2 separate regions of the Homo sapiens genome follow, and region 1 is linked to region 2. Evidence: promoter capture Hi-C in human tissues and cell types (Jung and others, 2019). All regions are on one chromosome and are shown on one strand. Each heading gives the region's core, a stretch centred on a gene start or on the middle of the fragment in contact. The rest is flanking DNA. Distances are from core to core; before and after follow the strand shown.

What was found. Contacts are between HindIII fragments. The study calls those that stand out against the background at their distance.
Region 1: a contact is called between the fragment with the promoter of ZSCAN29 here and a fragment that was not itself captured in region 2, in 1 of the 25 tissues and cell types used here (hippocampus).

The regions. Positions count from the first base shown.
Region 1 is chr15:43,368,767-43,373,469 of GRCh38, reverse strand. ZSCAN29 (zinc finger and SCAN domain containing 29) reads left to right here and starts at 2,427. Exons shown (of 6, transcript NM_001372080.1): 1 at 2,427-2,912; 2 at 3,445-3,874; 3 at 4,343-4,547. The coding sequence starts at 3,557. It overlaps TUBGCP4 (tubulin gamma complex component 4), which reads right to left and starts at 2,369. Exons shown (of 18, transcript NM_014444.5): 1 at 2,038-2,369. The coding sequence starts at 2,115. RefSeq lists an enhancer at 2,239-2,358 and a silencer at 2,459-2,728. The HindIII fragment of the contact is 7,589 bases long and covers 1-4,703 here.
Region 2 is chr15:42,913,725-42,917,976 of GRCh38, reverse strand. The region is part of intron 1 of TTBK2 (tau tubulin kinase 2); the gene reads left to right. Among named protein-coding and RNA genes, the nearest start is that of TTBK2, 4.9 kb to the left of the region's middle. The HindIII fragment of the contact is 6,776 bases long and covers 1-4,252 here.

The DNA.
Region 1 (4,703 bases), core at 1,178-3,677, 450 kb before region 2:
CACATAGCTAGTGCTCAATACACATAAGCAATTTTATATTATTAACAAGACAGCTCTACCAGTTATCAAGTGATACTACTATTAAAATTGGCATTTGAGCGTTTCTTGTTGGCAGAGTTTTCGAAAAGTTCAATATCTAATTATTCTGAAACAGCAAATAATAACTCGAAGTTACTGATACCATTCTATATAACACAGTTATAGGAACAGGCTGAGAAATCCTGCATTAGAATAATGGTCATTTGAACTTATTGATTTGGTAGTTTTGTTTACTTTTAATTTATAAAAATATTTGATTTTATAGTTGTTTAAGAGTATTATGCTTGAGTTTATACCTAGCTTATGTATATACATATTCAATATAATAAAATAATTTTCATTAACACTTGGCACTCATGACAACTTTTCCCTTTACTCAAATGTAAAAGACACTGCTCTGCAGAAATTATGTAATATTTGCCATCTTTGTCTTCTTTTCTTCCATCAATACCTAAACACCTGCTATGTGGCAGAAACTGTGCTAGGTGCTCTGGGTAGATGAATGAAGAAGACCACTGGTCTTCGCTCCCAGGGGCAATCTATGCGGGAGAAAGGCTAAAAACAGGTAACAACAATACATTATGAATTGTGACAAATCCTACAAGGGAAATAAACAAGTTGATGGAGAATAATGGCATCAGGGGAGGATGCTTAAAGATGTGCTCAGAGAAAGTTTTTCTGACAAAGTGACTTTAAAGCTGAGACCTTGAGGATGAAATGGTAGAAAATACATGATTGAGAATTTTTCATAAGAAAGAAAGGAAGGGAAAAGATGAATTACTTGTGGTTGTCTCCCCCACCCCCTCCCTAGCTATCTTTCCTGTACTGTGTTATCTCTTCTTATTTTGGACCATCAGGCACCCACATACTTCCTAAATACTGTCCTCCTATATGCCTGGCATTGTACTAAGATCTATGGAGAAAAGTGAAACATCGAATTAGTCTTCAAAGACCTACAGGTGAAAGATAACAATTCAAACTCCACCACACAAATCTTCACCTGTTTTTTTCAAAAATTCACCTAAACTCCCAAACTCCAAATACATGTTCATAAATAATAACGAAAGGAAACTGTTTGATTTATAGGTTTTATAGACTAAGAATGTACTTTTTCTGCTCTTCCACAGTCTCCTAAGAATCGGCATGTCTTGGTGATCAGACGGACCTAGATTTCAGTCTTGCCACTACTAGGACTGGCCAGCATAAAGTTTTCTGAGCTTCAGTTTGCTCATTTGTTAACTGGTAGAAACAATACCTAAGTGGACTAAATTATTGAGAGCATTAGATAACATTACTGGAAGCAGAAGCAGGTAAAAGTAGTTCAAATACTGAAGCCAGACAGACCTGGCTTCAAAACTAAGCTCTGTTAATTACTAGCTATGACCCCGATAGTTATTTAACTATTCTAAACCTAGCTTAATCTGTAAAATGGATAAGGTGGTTGTGAGGATTAAATAAGATAATGCATACGGAACATCATACATTCCTGGTTACACAAAGGCCCCCTACCAAGTGCTTTACCTAGTGCAGAAATTTTCTGGTAAAGGAGTAATGAGGGAAACACCACACGCTCTCGATTTCATTTATTTCCTTCAACAAACTTTACTGAGCGCTTACCATGTGTTTGGGAGCTGTGTATTTGGCCCAGTACTTCAAAACTCAAACAATGCACGTGTGAAAATAAATAGGAGAAAGTGCCTCCCACACTTCTATATCATTCCCCAGCAACTGTCAGACACCTGGACCTCAGGCCCTTTCCTCGCCCCGCCACAGGTGGGGCTCTTCGAGGTCTGCCCTCCGTTTTCTAGCCTAGGCCCGGCCTCTCTAGGTGTCGCATCAGCCTTGACCCTAAGGGGCTGCCCTCCAGTCACCTGTCCAGGGATACGCCCCCAGCCCTGGAAGCCCCGCTCGCTAGGTCCCTCAGCCTACTCCCCCAGGCGCTGGCTCAGGTCCCCCCTCCTGCGCTCCCTGGTTCCCGCGCTCTGCGCCGGACAGTACCTGCAGGCCACTCCGCTTGTTCCAGGTGAAAATGGACCCAGGGTACCCGCTCAGAGCCAAGAGCAGTTCGTGGATCATTCCCACGGCGGACCTCGAGTCCCTGGTTATGTCACCCCCTCCTCCAGCGCACCTCCAGGCGACCACGAGGGGAGTGCTTCCCCTTCCACACGCGCACCGGCCCCTGGGTCGGGCGGTTTGTGCCGAATCAACCCACCGAGACAATCGCTGCGGCGGAGCGGACGGGAAGCTGGGAAGGGGTCGCGGGGGAGTCCCGGAAGTTCGGCAGCTCAACGGGGTCCACCAGCTACTCCCGCCCGGGCTCTGCGGAGACTGAGTCGCGGTCGCTGCCCTCGCGCATGCGCCCTCGGTGCCCCGAGCCGCCCGCTCGGACTTCCGGTTTGGGAGCTGTACTTGGGAGGCTGGAGAGCCGGGGCCGGGGCCGGGGCCGGGGCCGGGGTCAGGGTCGGACCCCGAGTGGGTGAGGCTGGCCCGGAGGCAAGGATGCGAGGGGGTTGAGGGGCAGCTCGAGAGGGAGACGCTCCCAGGGGTGGGCTGGAGGGCGCCCTCAGGGCGCCTTAGCCGGGTCAGAGGCCTCTGGAGGGACCGCACGACGGCTCCGGGTTACCCGGCCGGAGGGAGCGGAGACAAAAGAGGCCAGAATCCCGCAGCCGCTGCTCCTTGGGCTGAGAGCTCTGCGTCCGCGAACCGGCAGCACCTGGAGCCTCTGGCCGACACCCGAGCCCGTCCTCAGGAAGCCCGTTACTACTGCTCCTCGGATTCCGTCTCTCCTGCCCAATGTGACTCTCCCCAAGCCCCCATGGTCCTCGCTTTGGAGCCAAAACCAGCTTCTCTCCTTGCGCGAGGTTTTCCGACAGGTAGCTCCCTAATCCTTGCTGAGCGGCTACTACTACGCGGGGAAAACAAAGACCCGAGATTCTGGACGTGATTTTTGCCTGGGGTGGGCTTTGGGAGTTGTGCAGCCCGAGGGGGCGGGGCGGACGCAGAAGGCCTCGGGAAGGACTGCGGAGATACTGGGGGAGATCAGCTGCGACCAGCTGGACAGAGGCTTTTTGTTGCCTTCAAGCAGGATGGTGACTTGTCTTTAGATCCTCTCGAACTCCAGCTCTCCTATATGGTTCGGACTCACTGTGCAACATTGGCCAGGGAAGTTAAATGGGATCGGATTTGGAGGAGGTGGGAGAGGGGCAGACAGTACTTTTATTCTCTGCTGCTTCCTGGGGCTGCCCTGGAAGTCAACCAGAAAAGCAGTTTTTGCAAAGTCTATTTACTGAAGATTGTGCTACCTTAGAAGGCCACTCGGAGCACATGGAAAGGCAGGCCAGCTCTGGCAAGACTTTAGACATATGAATGTATTCCTTCTGATAGTGCCATCTTTCTCTGCCCTAGGAAGAAACACCTCTTACAGTCATCTGCAGGGGATTCTCCAAGGACATGGGAAGATAGATGTAAGCCCTGGAACCCAGACTCCTAAGCGAAGGGAAGCTGCATTCTGCTATTAATGATGGCCAAATCAGCTCTAAGAGAGAATGGCACTAACTCTGAGACCTTCCGACAGCGTTTCAGGAGATTCCATTACCAGGAGGTGGCTGGGCCGCGGGAGGCTTTCAGCCAACTCTGGGAACTTTGCTGTCGGTGGCTAAGGCCGGAGGTGCGCACCAAGGAGCAGATTGTAGAACTGTTGGTGCTAGAGCAGTTCCTGACCGTCTTACCTGGGGAGATCCAGAATTGGGTACAGGAACAATGTCCAGAAAATGGAGAGGAGGCAGTGACTCTCGTGGAAGATTTAGAAAGAGAGCCTGGAAGACCTAGATCTTCGGTGAGAAGGGAGGGGGAATTCAAATTCAAAAGTGTGATACTGGGTGGAGGGCTAAATTAAGATATAGACAGGCTTAAAGAGGGACACAGTCTCCCTTGGTGAGGCTTATACTTCTGGTCTGGTATAGGTAACTTTTTCAGATAGTGCTTGTCTGGAGATGCTTCCTGGGTGTACCTTCACCTACCCTGTCATAATGAGTTTTTCCTATAGTTTCTTAATAGGGAAGAAAGGGGATTTTTTTTTTTCAGCCTGAAGGTGGGTTTACTATTTTGATCGTTTCCTTCTGGAGTTTCAACTGCTTTAAGCTAATGGCAATGGAATAAGACCCTTGTTCGCGTTAACCTCCCTCACCCCTACAACCCTGGCCATGGCTCTGAAAGATGATCTCTTTTGGGGTATTAAATACTCTCCTCTGGGAATGCCCCTCATTATGATCTTGCAGTGACAATTAACGGGGGTTGTTTCTAGGTCACAGTCTCTGTGAAGGGGCAGGAAGTGCGCTTGGAGAAGATGACACCCCCGAAATCATCACAAGAGTTATTAAGTGTTCGGCAGGAGTCAGTGGAACCCCAGCCCAGGGGTGTACCCAAGAAAGAGAGGGCAAGAAGCCCAGACCTGGGACCACAGGAGCAGATGAACCCAAAGGAGAAGCTCAAACCTTTTCAAAGGAGCGGTGAGGAGTAGATTCATATGGGAAGATAGACTGCCATTCCAAGTTGGGAAGTAGGGTTGGGAATAGTGAGTGGGAAAGGGATTTCAGGAGTAAGTGGAAATTGCAGAATATGTGGTTGTTGACATGTAGTTTAGCCTCTGGTATTCATATTACCTC
Region 2 (4,252 bases), core at 464-2,963:
TGGAAAATATAGCTATAGCTTACTTCTTTCCACACTTAAAAAAAAATCCTATAGGAAATATTCTTTTACAAATATATAGCAAACAGTGTTTTCAATTTGAGGGTATGCTACTCAAAATTACTCTAGTCATGTATTCATTTTTTGTTCTTATTGAGGTTTTTGAGAGACACTCAAAATGTAGCTGGAGCTATTTCTGTTTGATTAGTAATATTGCAATATACCTTCAATATTTATGGATTTTTGAAATTAAATACATTTTATTTAGTTTTATTTCCTAGTCTTTTTTTTTTTTGTCATCCAGCATATTGTAAACAATGTGTGGTAGTGGAAGTTTTTTCCCCAGGCTTCAGTGGATAGAACCTTTTATGCCGAAAGTACTGAAAGCTTTCAAGTTAAATATCGTACATATTTGGTGAAAGAGCCTTTAAGGTCATATGAAAAAATTCAGTTTTTTAGAACTAAATTTTGAGCATAAGGACAACACATATTACTACTCAAAACTGCCTCATTAAAGTCTGGTGATCCTTGATTATAGGTTTATAATACAGATTGAAATTATATTATAACATAATATGAATGTCAATTTTGCTAGATAGTTTCTTCTTTTCAGTTGGTTATTTTTAAATAGCCTTCTTAGTATATTTTCATTAATGTCATGTGACTTTATTCTTGATGCTTAAGTGAACATATAGTACTTACAAACTTTTGTGAACATTTTGGATTTTTTTTCCTGTGATTTTTTTTTTAACCTTTGTCTCTATAATCCTTGGTGTTTTGGAGTGTTTATAGCTGTTTTTTATTGTATATAGGAATTTGCTTTCACTTCAGTTAGGGTAAAGCTTCCCAATGTGAAAAACTTAAGTGTCCTTTGAAAAGAATCTGGGATGTAATAGTGCCTCCTAAAGAGTGGAAGTTACTAAGTAGCTTCTTAGCTTCCTTTGGTAAGCTATCGAGATTTAACCATGTTTTCAGAATCATTATTTTTTTAAACAGAGAATTAACATCTTTATTGAAAACAAGAATCAGCATTTTAAAATGTTTGAATTAGAAAACATATTTGCCATTATATATGTTTTTACCAAAATGGTTTTATAATTAATATTTTTATATTTGTCTTTTTCTTTCTGCAGTTTCAAAGTAGTTGCCTTTAAAAAAATGGAGTTGCAGTTTCCATCATCTTGTTCTAGCCATATGATCATTGAAAGACTATATTTTGTTCATATTTTTCCAACATTGAATTTTCCACGTTATATATTATAGATGAAGTTTGTAAAGTCTTTTTAAATTTCTTGATCCTCCAAGTGCTTCAGTTTCAAAAATATCTAAAAGTTTTATCACCATTTTTCAGCCGGGTGTGGTGGCTCACACGTGTAATCCTAGCACTTTGGGAGGCCAAGGTAGGTAATTGAATCACTTGAGGTCAGGAGTTGGAGACAAGTCTGGCCAACGTGGCGAAACCGCATCCCAACTAAAAATAGAAAAATTAGCAGGATGTGGTGGCATGCACCTGTAATCTCAGCTACTTGGGAGGCTGAGGCAGGAGAATTGCTTGAACCCGGAGGCGGTGGTTGCAGTGAGCTAAGATTGTGCCACTGCACTCCAGCCTGGGTGACAGAGTGAAACTCTGTATCAAAAACAAAAACAAAAAACATTTTTCAATGACCAATAAGGCGAAGATGAGGGGAGGAAAATAGGAAAAAATGAATAACCAAAGAAAAAAATGTGAGCCTTGCCTCTCATGGAAATTTGATTTAAGAAAAATCATCTGGAGGCTAAATTATATGGTAGATAATAAACTAGATTAGGACTTCATTTCTGCTGGACTTCCCTAGCACTTAAAAAATTCAACATATCCAAGATAATAGTCAGTTCTCTTTTTAACTTCCTTAATTCTATAAATAAAGGCATTATCATTTAGTCATACAGGATCAAAACACACATTCTCTCTCTCTCTTTTCTTTTTTCTTTTTTCTTTTTGCTCCCTATTTCTCCTGGATCTCACCCACACAAAACCTCTGCTTTCTTTCTTTTTTTGGAGACAGGGTCTTGCTCTGTTGCCCAGGCTGGAGTGCCATGATCGTAGCTCACTGCAGCCTTGACCTCCTGGGATCAGGCAGTCCTCCCCCCTTAGCCTCCTGGGTAGCTGGGACTACGGGCATGTGCCACCACACTTGGCTAATTTTACAATTTTTTGTATAGGTGGGGTCCCACTATGTTGCCCAGGCTGGTCTTGAACTCCTGAATTCAAGCAATCCTCCCACCTCAGCCTCCCAAAGTGCAGGAATTATAGGCATGAGGCACAATGCCTAGCCCTCTGCATTTTATTTCCATTGCTACCACCTTACTTTGGTCTCTGTGAAACTTTAAACTACTGTAGTCATCCCCATCTAAGGGGCATGCATTCCAAGACCCCCAGTGGATGCCTGAAACCTCAGATAGTACCTTACCCTATAGATAATTATGCTTTTCCTATACATACATGGCTGTGATAAAGTTTATAAATTAAGCATAGTAAGGGAATAATAACAATAGCTAATAAAATAGAACAGTTATCGTAATATGCCAGCATCACTACTCTTGTGTTTTAGGGCCATTATTAAGTAAAATAAGAGTTAGTTACTTGAACACAAGCACTGCTATACTGAGACAGTGATCTAACAACCAAGATGGCTACTAAGTGACAAACAGCACAGACGGTGCAGATACATGCTGGACAAAGGGATGGTTCACGTCCTAGGTGCAACAGAGCTGAACAGCTTGAGATTTCATCACCATACTCAAAACAATATACAATTTAAAACGTATGAATTGTTTATTTCTGGAATTCTCCATTTAATATTTTTGGACTGTGGTTGACCACGGGTAACTGAAACTGCAGAAAGTGAAACCATGGATAAGGGGGATTACTGTGTAACAGTAGCCTCATTCCTTGATTAAATACTTGCTAAGCATCTACCATGTTACTGTGCTAGGGGTTGGAGATTTAACAGCCAACAAGACAAATAATCTACTCACTTTTGGAGCTTACAAATAGTGGAAGCAGAGATTTGCAGGAGAAGGAATTACAAGTGTTCCAGGTATTATGAAGGGAAGATGCAGACATGAGCATTTAACAGACCTAACAGTCAAGAGGTGGGTTCAGGGAAGAAGTTTCTGTTTCATCAGCCACAGTTCATTCTACATACTTCACCAGAGTCAGAGGCTAGTGGATATATTATCCCTATAATTAGTTAAATAATTAAATAAATAATGACAAAATAAATGTTTTTAAATTTAAAAGACTATTTGAAATTAAATGTCCACACAACCCATGAAACAGCTTTAGACAAGTTCTTTCAGAACACAAGAACACTTGAAAGAGTTTTGTCCTAAAGAGTCCCCACTCTCCCTCCAATATGGGTTTCTACTTTGGATTCTCCCAAGCCTCAATTACTTGAATACTGACAGAGTTCCTATGTTATGGTTTTACACTCTCTGTTTGAACCATGAGAACTTAGGACTGTGTTACCAGAAGCCAGAGTACAAGCCATGGTTACAAGAAAGAGGTGTTCCAAGTAGATGGCTATAGTGTCTCTGTAGCTAGGGTCCAGCAGCTTATCGGTGATTCATTAAATGTACAAGTGATTAGGATATAATATATTAGGATATATTATATTATACTGTGGCTGGCCAGTTTTGCTGTTTTTGAAAAAGGAAGTTAAGGCCAGGCGTGGTGGCTCATGCCTATAATCCTAGCACTTTGGGAGGCTGAGGCGGGCAGATCACGAGGTCATGAGTTTGAGACTAGCCTGGCCAATATGGTGAAACCCTGTCTCTACTAAAAAATATAAAAATTAGCCGGGTATGGTGGCACGCACCTGTAGTCCCAGCTACTTGGGAGGCTGAGGCAGGAGAATCGCTTGAATCCGGGAGGTGGAGGTTGCAGTGAGTCGAGACAGCACCATTGCACTCCAGCCTGGGTGACAGAGCAAAACTCCATCTCAAAAAAAAAAAAAGGAAGTTAATATACTTAAAATGTTATTGCAGTGAAGATACAGAAAAGGTTCTGTATTGATTTTTCTTTGTGTTAGTGGGAAGATCATAGACATAATGCTTTGCTCGGTTGATTTGGTTATAGTAGATTTTACCCGAGGAATGATTTTGTTTACCCAAGGAATGTGTAGTGTTTTCCTTAACAATCTGGTCATGTAAGTTATACTGTACTTCCTATAAGGGAAGAATTTGTTTATGTGTTGCTAGTATGGTAGCCAGG